3 separate regions of the Homo sapiens genome follow, and regions 2 and 3 are each linked to region 1. The links are contacts of gene promoters, found by promoter capture Hi-C in blood cells and fetal thymus (Javierre and others, 2016). All regions are on one chromosome and are shown on one strand. The core of a region is centred on a gene start or on the middle of the fragment in contact, and the rest is flanking DNA. Distances in the headings are between cores, read along the strand shown.

What was found. The method cuts DNA at HindIII sites, captures the fragments that hold promoters and counts their contacts. A CHiCAGO score of 5 or more calls a contact.
Region 2: a fragment that was not itself captured here is called in contact with the fragment with the promoter of ACTR8 in region 1 in 1 of 17 cell types (activated CD4 T cells); the score reaches 9.6 in activated CD4 T cells.
Region 3: a contact is called between a fragment that was not itself captured here and the fragment with the promoter of ACTR8 in region 1, in 1 of 17 cell types (total B cells). The highest score is 8.0, in total B cells.

Annotation. Positions count from the first base shown.
Region 1 is chr3:53,880,815-53,883,514 of GRCh38, forward strand. ACTR8 (actin related protein 8) reads right to left here and starts at 1,338. Exons shown (of 13, transcript NM_022899.5): 1 at 1,165-1,338. The coding sequence starts at 1,287. RefSeq lists silencers at 965-1,074, 1,465-1,554 and an enhancer at 1,225-1,304. The HindIII fragment of the contact is 9,111 bases long and covers 681-2,700 here.
Region 2 is chr3:23,918,824-23,921,865 of GRCh38, forward strand. It overlaps RPL15 (ribosomal protein L15), which reads left to right. Exons shown (of 4, transcript NM_002948.5): 4 at 373-2,166. The coding sequence ends at 678. It also overlaps a transcript of NKIRAS1 not described here. Among named protein-coding and RNA genes, the nearest start is that of RPL15, 3.2 kb to the left of the region's middle. The HindIII fragment of the contact is 2,659 bases long and covers 1-2,624 here.
Region 3 is chr3:14,667,725-14,670,424 of GRCh38, forward strand. It overlaps CCDC174 (coiled-coil domain containing 174), which reads left to right. Exons shown (of 11, transcript NM_016474.5): 9 at 325-457; 10 at 2,210-2,362. Among named protein-coding and RNA genes, the nearest start is that of C3orf20, 6.1 kb to the right of the region's middle. The HindIII fragment of the contact is 297 bases long and covers 1,213-1,509 here.

The sequences.
Region 1 (2,700 bases), core at 88-2,587:
TAATCACCTTCAGGACTCTAAACAGATGTCACCTCACCTCCTTTGAAGAAACCCTCCCTGACTGTCGGGGATGGAGGAGGTACTTGCTTGAGTGCCCAATACTGCCCTCTGCACAAGCCCATTCCATGCCATGCTCTGATACCTGTTGTCCTATCTCCAAGTGTGACCTCTCTCCTCCTAATCACCCCCCACAGAGTGGGAGAATCCTAGAGGGAAGGATCTGGCAAGGCCCTTACAGACCATCCAGTCAGCCTTCTCAACTAGACAGATGGAGAAACCAGGCCTGTGCAACAGTAATGGCCACTCTGGGCTTACGGTGTGCCAGGCACTGTCATACTAGTGATAACTAACTAGTAGCTGCCCTACTAGTTAGGTATTATCCTTAACCCATCTACCGGTAAGGAAGCTGGATCAGAGATGTCCTACATGAATTTCTGAGCAGTTTATGCCTCATTTCTTCTGTGAATTGTACACTGCCTGTGCCCGTTTTCCTACGTGAATGCTGTTTTAGTTACTGATCAGTAAGGTTTTGTGTATGTGTATACATCTAAGGTCCTCTGCCAGGCACGCTACTGCAAATAATTTTTTCTGGTTAGTTTAGTTTGGTCTAATAGTGTTGTTTTTGATACACAAGCTCTTAATATATATTTAGACAAATGTCCACCATTTCCTTGCTTTTAAGCTTGAAATGACTTCCATTATCTGAGATTTCCTTAACAAAGGAAAAAGCCTGGACCCCAAACTATCCCTTAACAAGCACAGGCTGACGCTCCCAGTGAGCCAGCCTGGTCCTAAACTCTATCTGCCACCATTTAACCCTCACGGCAACTTGCGAGGCGGCTGGTTATCACCGTGGTCGTTTTATGGTCGGGGAAGCTGAGGCCAGAGCCCGGGCAGGAGCGCACACAACCAGACGGTGGGGCGTGCGGGAGATCGGAGCGGTGTCCCTGCGGGGGCTCCGCCTGGCTCCTGGCGCTCCGCACCTCCCAGCCCTCGGCGTCCCGGCGCGCCACCACCCGGAAAAGAACGACCGCTTCCGCACTCCCCCCACCAGGGGCTGGGGCCTGCAAGGGGGACTCGAAGCCTCCCGCCGCCTCCCGCCCCTTGCCTGGCAGCGGAGGACCCAAGCAAGGGCAAAGAGTTCCAACCCAGCCAGAGCCGCACCTCTTGCAGCGACTCCGGCACCAGCGCGGGCACGATGGGCCGCTTCACGCCGCGCTGCTCCTTCTCCTTCTCGCCGCCCTTCTCCTTTCCGTTCTCCGTATCACCCTTCTCAGCCTGGGTCATTATGGCCGGAGACACCCACCAACCTCTCGCCTCAGCGCTGCAGCCACGACTGCCGGGATGGAAGGGCCACCGCGCAGGCGCACGGCCGGCTGCCCACAGTCAAGATGGCCGCCGCGGAGTCGCCCCAGAGGGCTCCGAAAAGGCGGGGGTGGGGCTGCCCGGCGCAGGGGCTGGGGGCGGGGTGTGCATGCGGATTGATTGGGTGGGTGTTGCTGTGATTAGTCCTGACTGTGTAGATGCCAGCAACATAGTACACATAGCTTTTCGAGCGCCTAGTGGGGGTCGGCTGATAACCCGCATCTTATTTCGTCCTCACAGGCATCTCTTCTCCTGGCTTCCCAGATACCATATGTACTCTTAGTTTTTCTCATATGTCTTCATGTTCAGTCCAGCCTCTGATGTTGGGGTTAGGTCTTTTCCAGGCACACTCCTTGGGTGACTATCCAGTTTCCTGGCTTTAGCAATGAATACGATTCCCAAATATATATATCCAGGATGAACCGCTCAGAGAGATCCGTACTGATAACCAGTGCCTACTTGGTCTCTCCATCTGGATTGTCTACAAGGCACTGCAAACTTAAATATGTCCAAAATTTAACTCTTGATTCCCTCCCCTCTCACTTTCACCATCTCAGTAAATGTCATTTTGATTCTTCACTTGTTGACAGCTTCTACATCCAATCCATCAGTAAATCCTGCAGTCTCTAAAATAGATCTTGAATTCATCCACTTCTCCATTCCCATGCCACTACCTAGCCCAAGCCACTATCATCTCACCTGGATGACTACAACAGCCTCTTAACTCGAACTCCTTGTCCTGTCCCCCTATGATCTGTTCTTATATAGTTGCCCACGTTGTTTTAAAATATTACGTAGTTAATACTACTATGTACCCAGCACTCCACTAAGACTTACCTCAAAAATTAGATGTCACTCATGCTTTAAACTCTAATGGTTTCCCTTTGCTCAAAGAACAGAATCTAAACTAACCACCACCTAAAGACCATATCTAGTTATTGCTACATTTCTAAGTTCACCTCACAACACTCTCCCCATTCCTTGGCATTTCCAGCTACACCTGTTTTATCTTTCTCAGACATGCCAAGCCCTTCCCGTCATCGGGCTGTTGCACTTGCTGTTCATTTTGCCTTGGATGCTCTTCCCTCAGCTGTCTCATTCTCACGTCTGAACTCAAATGTCACCTCAGGCCTTCCGCAGTTATTCTCTCATCATCCTATTCCCTTTGAAGCATGAAGCATTAGTCTGTAATTATCATGCCTGCTCACTGTCTCCCACACTAGAATGTAAGCTCCGTGAGACTTTGCCAGTTATCTTCAGCACATGGTAGGTGCCCAATAAGCATGTGATGACTAAATACTAAATAAAGAACTCTTGGAGGTAAAAATTTAATCC
Region 2 (3,042 bases), core at 45-2,544, about 30 Mb before region 1:
AATGTGGCCTGCACAGCCTAAAATATATACTAAATATTTTTAAAGCTAAACGTTGCTGAGCTCTCAGTTGTATGGAAAAAGATAAGGTCCCCAAACCCTAAATTTTGTTACCCAGATATTAACATATTCCTGCCCTAGTCAGGAATGGAGTATTAAGAGGGAATGATGTGTTTCAGTCTATGTGTGTTGTTTTAGCAAGTCTACATTATCTCATTACACTTGTGATAGTCTAGGGAGAAATGCTTAGTAAATAACTTGAGTAGTAAAAGACTCTTGTCTGGTGGTGAACTAGAGTTGAGAATTAAAATTCTTTCTGACTTGCTGCTATAGGCAATGTGGGAGATTGACCTTGGGCCTTTTTTCCTATTCTAGGAGCGAGCTGGACGCCACTGTGGGGCTCTGAGAGTCCTGAATTCTTACTGGGTTGGTGAAGATTCCACATACAAATTTTTTGAGGTTATCCTCATTGATCCATTCCATAAAGCTATCAGAAGAAATCCTGACACCCAGTGGATCACCAAACCAGTCCACAAGCACAGGGAGATGCGTGGGCTGACATCTGCAGGCCGAAAGAGCCGTGGCCTTGGAAAGGGCCACAAGTTCCACCACACTATTGGTGGCTCTCGCCGGGCAGCTTGGAGAAGGCGCAATACTCTCCAGCTCCACCGTTACCGCTAATATAAGTAAAGTTTGTAAAATTCATACTTAATAAACAATTTAGGACAGTCATGTCTGCTTACAGGTGTTATTTGTCTGTTAAAACTAGTCTGCAGATGTTTCTTGAATGCTTTGTCAAATTAAGAAAGTTAAAGTGCAATAATGTTTGAAGACAATAAGTGGTGGTGTATCTTGTTTCTAATAAGATAAACTTTTTTGTCTTTGCTTTATCTTATTAGGGAGTTGTATGTCAGTGTATAAAACATACTGTGTGGTATAACAGGCTTAATAAATTCTTTAAAAGGAGAGAACTGAAACTAGCCCTGTAGATTTGTCTGGTGCATGTGATGAAACCTGCAGCTTTATCGGAGTGATGGCAATGCTCTGCTGGTTTATTTTCAAGTGGCTGCGTTTTTTTTAGTTTGGCAGGTGTAGACTTTTTAAGTTGGGCTTTAGAAAATCTGGGTTAGCCTGAAGAAAATTGCCTCAGCCTCCACAGTACCATTTTAAATTCACATAAAAGGTGAAAGCTCCTGGTTCAGTGCCATGGCTTCATGGCATTCAGTGATTAGTGGTAATGGTAAACACTGGTGTGTTTTGAAGTTGAATGTGCGATAAAATTATTAGCCTTAAGATTGGTAAGCTAGCAATGAATGCTAGGGTGGGAAGCTGGTGAGCCAGTGGCCATTAGATAAATACCTTTCAAGTGTGAGCTTAGACGTCAACCCTAAAATACTTAACCGTAATGCTAATTGTGATCATTATGAATCCCTTCAGTCACATTAGGGGGAAAGTAGTTGGCTATAAGTACGTCATTCTTAGTCCAGTCAGTCTTAAAAACATCTTGGGTTACCCACTCTGTCCACTCCCATAGGCTACAGAAAAAGTCACAAGCGCATGGTTTCCAACCATATGTGTTTTCTGCAGTTATTTCTCTTGTTCTGGCCAAACAACCCTAAAAATCCTTACCATTCCACAAAGTTGGACCATCACTTGTGCACCCACTTTGACTATGAGTATACCACCACATTGCATTTCTGTTTGCACCATGTCTTCCAGGAGACTAGACTACTGTTGTCCAGGGTCAATTTGAGTGTAAAGAAAATGTAGACAAGGAATTGCCCAATTTTAAATTCTGACTTTGCTGACTTAATTTAAATGCTCGTTCTGAACCAATTTTCTCCTATCTTCTCTAGGGGTTTCAAAAGACTCAGTTAATTGATTTCCAGGAAGTACTCATAGCAAGTTCATAAAAGTTCTTGAGACCTAAATTTCTTCACAAAAAAAGAAAAGATCTTAAGTCATACATTTTAATTGTGTAGAGGTTGTTCAACTGAAGGAATAAATGTCTATTAAACTAAAACAAATGGACCTTCTGTTATTTTTTGTCATCTTACAGTGCTAATGTACTTTAAAGCAAACCAAATGCCCTAACCAGCAAAAAGGCATCAAAATGTGATTATAGAAATAATATAATTTGAGATAGCATAAAATGTACTTATTCTCTCAGTTCTTTGATCATTGCATGAATTAGGTTTTTATCTAAAACTGTTCAGCTGGGTGTGGTGGCTCAGGCCTGTAATCCTGGCACTTTGGGAGACAAGCTGGAGGATTTGTTGAGGCCAGCCTGGGCAGCATAGTGAGACCTAAAAACAAAAAAAATCCTTAAACATGACTAATTTGGGAAGGAGAGAAAGGGTTCGGGCCAAAGGTCAGCATTGTCTCTACAAGAAAACCTTGTTCCTGTCCTTGCTACCCAACAGTTTTATCTCCACACAGTAGTCCAAGGGATCCTATTAAATTGATCATGGCACTCCCGTGCAAAAAAATCAAAAGTCCTCATGATAGCTTTCATGATCTTCCCACTTTATGTGTGACCTCATGTCCTACTGCAGTCCACACCCCAGGCTCCTTGCTGTTTGTTCTTCAAATACACCAAACACTTCCTAATGCCTTTATGATGGGAAAGCTTTACTCCAATATTAAGGGTCACTTTATTAGCTATACCCTGACCGCCCCACAAGCTGTTCCCATTTGCTTTACTATTTCTATATTGGCATGTAATTCACACAGCAACATTGATTATTGAGTTTTTTTTTTTTTTTTTTTTTTTCCAGATGGAGTCTCACTCTCACTCAGGTGGGAGTGCAGTGGGGCAATCACGGCTCACTGCAACCTCTGTCTCCCGGGTTTGAGCAATTCTTCTGCCTCGGCCTCCCAAATAGCCAGGACTACAGGCGCACACTGCCATGCCCAGCTAAGTTTTGTATTTTTAGTAGAGACTGGGTTTCACTATGTTGGCCAGGCTGGTCTCGAACTCCTGACCTCAAGTGATCCACCTGCCTTGGCCTCCCAAAGTGCTGGGATTACAGGCGTGAGCCACCA
Region 3 (2,700 bases), core at 111-2,610, about 39 Mb before region 1:
CCCAAATGTGGTACTTTTGGGGTGGCTTGGATGGGAAAATAGAAAGTTACTTAAAGGATTAAGGTGTAGGACGGAATGGGTTGGTTTTCTTGAGTGTTAAGGCTTGCAAGATGCTCTGTGAACTCTTATGAAACTTTGTAAGACATCAGAGGGTTCATAGGAGAGTACTTCATAGGGCTTCATTGTGAGGATCTCAAGGACAGCTTCTTAGAGGTGGCCTGAAGATCAATTAACTAGTCTATTTTTAGAAGAAAATTTCATCTTTTTGGACAGGAATATTGCAAATTTGGCTTCAAGCAAATAATTTTCTGATTTTCTGTTCAGACAACAGATCAGAGAACAAAACGAGAAAACATAAAGGAAAAGCGAAAGGCTATCTTAGAGGCAAGACTTGCCAAACTTCGACAAAAAAAGATGAAAAAATCAAAAGAAGGTGGAACAGAAGAAGAAAATAGAGGTATATCATGGCTATGTTGCTGAACTTCAAAAGGGAAAATTTTATTTCCATTGATGTCTTGCTAATAGGGCTGGCAATGTGAAAATTAGCCATTTAGTTTTATATTTAAGCAAACAGTATACCTTTGAGGTACTGGCAGGAGCAATTTTTATAACCAAAGTGATGCAGAATGACATTCAATATTTTTAGGCTATAGATGAGGATATGAAGCAACAATACATTGTGTTGCATCTTAGAATGGCATAGTCTTGTAATTGAGACTTAGTAAAGAGATATTTTAAGATAAAGTTTAGCTTTGCATATATATGTTTTAGACTTAAATTTTTTGCTATTGGTTATTTTATATATATATTTAAAGAAATTTATATTCATAAAGTTACATAGTAAAAGAATTTAGAAATATGAATATCGACAGCTTGCCAAAGCTTACCAAAGAACTGTGCTCCAGAAGTTGGTGATGTGGAACTTGGAGCACGGTTCCCCTTGGAAACACTGTTAAATGCTATGTCAGACTAGCTTATTGCATGAGTTGTGGTAGTACAGGCTAAATTGCCATCAATCTAGAGACTCCTACATAGAATGGCTCAAACAAAATAGAGATCTGTTTCTCTACTTAACAACTTGGAGGTAGGTGGGTGAGTGGGTATCCAGGGCATGTGAGTAGCTCTGCCCTAGATGGTCATCTAGTCCCAGGCTTCCTCCAGGCTTGCTGTTTCTGCCATTTCCTAGAGTATTTTTCTCTTCTGCATAGTCAAAGCTTGCTCCCCTGCTCACCTGTTCATGATCCAGCCTAGGGGTAGGCAGGGAGACTGGGAAGGGGAGCCACCTTCCTTTTTAGAGATGTGAGTGGGAAGTTACATACAGCCTATGCATTTACATCCTGCTGGCCAGAGCTCAGTCCTGTGGGCCACACCTCACTGTAGGAGAAGCTGGGAAATGGCCTCTCCAGCAAGGTGGCCACATGCTCAGCTGCAACCGGGGGGCATTCTGTTACCCAAAGGAAAAGGAGGAGTGTGGGTATGAAGGGACGTATAGCTCTCCAGCTCTCACAAAGCTTATGTGAAGCCATGGGCCATTTCCTAATGTCTGAACAAAACAGACCAGAAACATTTAGGAATTTGAAAACCATCTGTTTAGTTTCAGATAAATGCTCGCTCTATAACATGTTAAGCTGTGCAGATTGTTTCTCAAATTTTGCTCCATCTCCTGAACATCTGTCATGTCCAGAAAATGTGAAGCGCCACCACAGTGTTTTTTAAAAATCCATTTTTCTTTTACATTTTAAAAATGTGACCAAAATTGAACAGCCTACACCAGACCCCAGCTGTTCATCCCCTTGGCTCTGCTTGCTTCGCCTGAGATTGTGATGTTAGTTGAGTGATTTGGGGATTTCTGGTCCTGCAATTGCCAGTTTGGAGAAGCAGAGTGGCATAGTGAGGGGCACAGAGACTAAAATCCATCCAGCCCAGCCCAGGACTCCAGCCCGTATCACTTTCTACCTGTGTACCATTTCTGAGCTTAATTTTCCCCCTCTATAAAATGGGGATAATATGGAAGTATTGAATTTATTAGGATTGTTACAAGAATTAAATGACCTGTTGTATACAAAAGACTTAATCCACTGCCTGGGACATGTTAGGTACTTCATAAATACTGATGGTTACTTTTACTTTCAGGATTAGCATGTTCTGTATTTTTAAAAATAGCTTTAGGCTTTTTTATAACAGTGTCTTATTCTTTTACAAAAAATAGATGGAGATGTTATTGGGCCTTTGCCACCGGAGCCAGAGGCTGTGCCAACCCCACGTCCTGCTGCCCAGAGTAGCAAAGTAGAAGTCATTGTCCAGGAGAGGAAGGACACCAAGCCTGGAGTGCCACACATCCGGGAGTGGGACCGCGGAAAAGGTAAGGGAGGTGGGCTCTGAGGTGTAAGAACTCTCCAGTGAATGGAAAATGGTTTTTTTTCTAGAAGCACTTGGGGTAAGTTTTAACTTCGTGCTGCCTTGTGTGGTTTTACAGCTTTGGAATGCCATTTCTCAGGACCTGCCTTTAAAGTATTATGAAAGTTTGGTGTTCTCATATGCTCTGTTTTTAGCAGCCTCTTTTATGTTCAGTTGAAAATGGTCTACATGCCAGTGTACTAACCTGGATTCACACATGGTTCCATTGGGGAATTTCCCTGGACATTTTTTCTGTAAATTCTCCAGAGTGTCCACAGCAGCCTCTCTGGAAGACTATGGTTT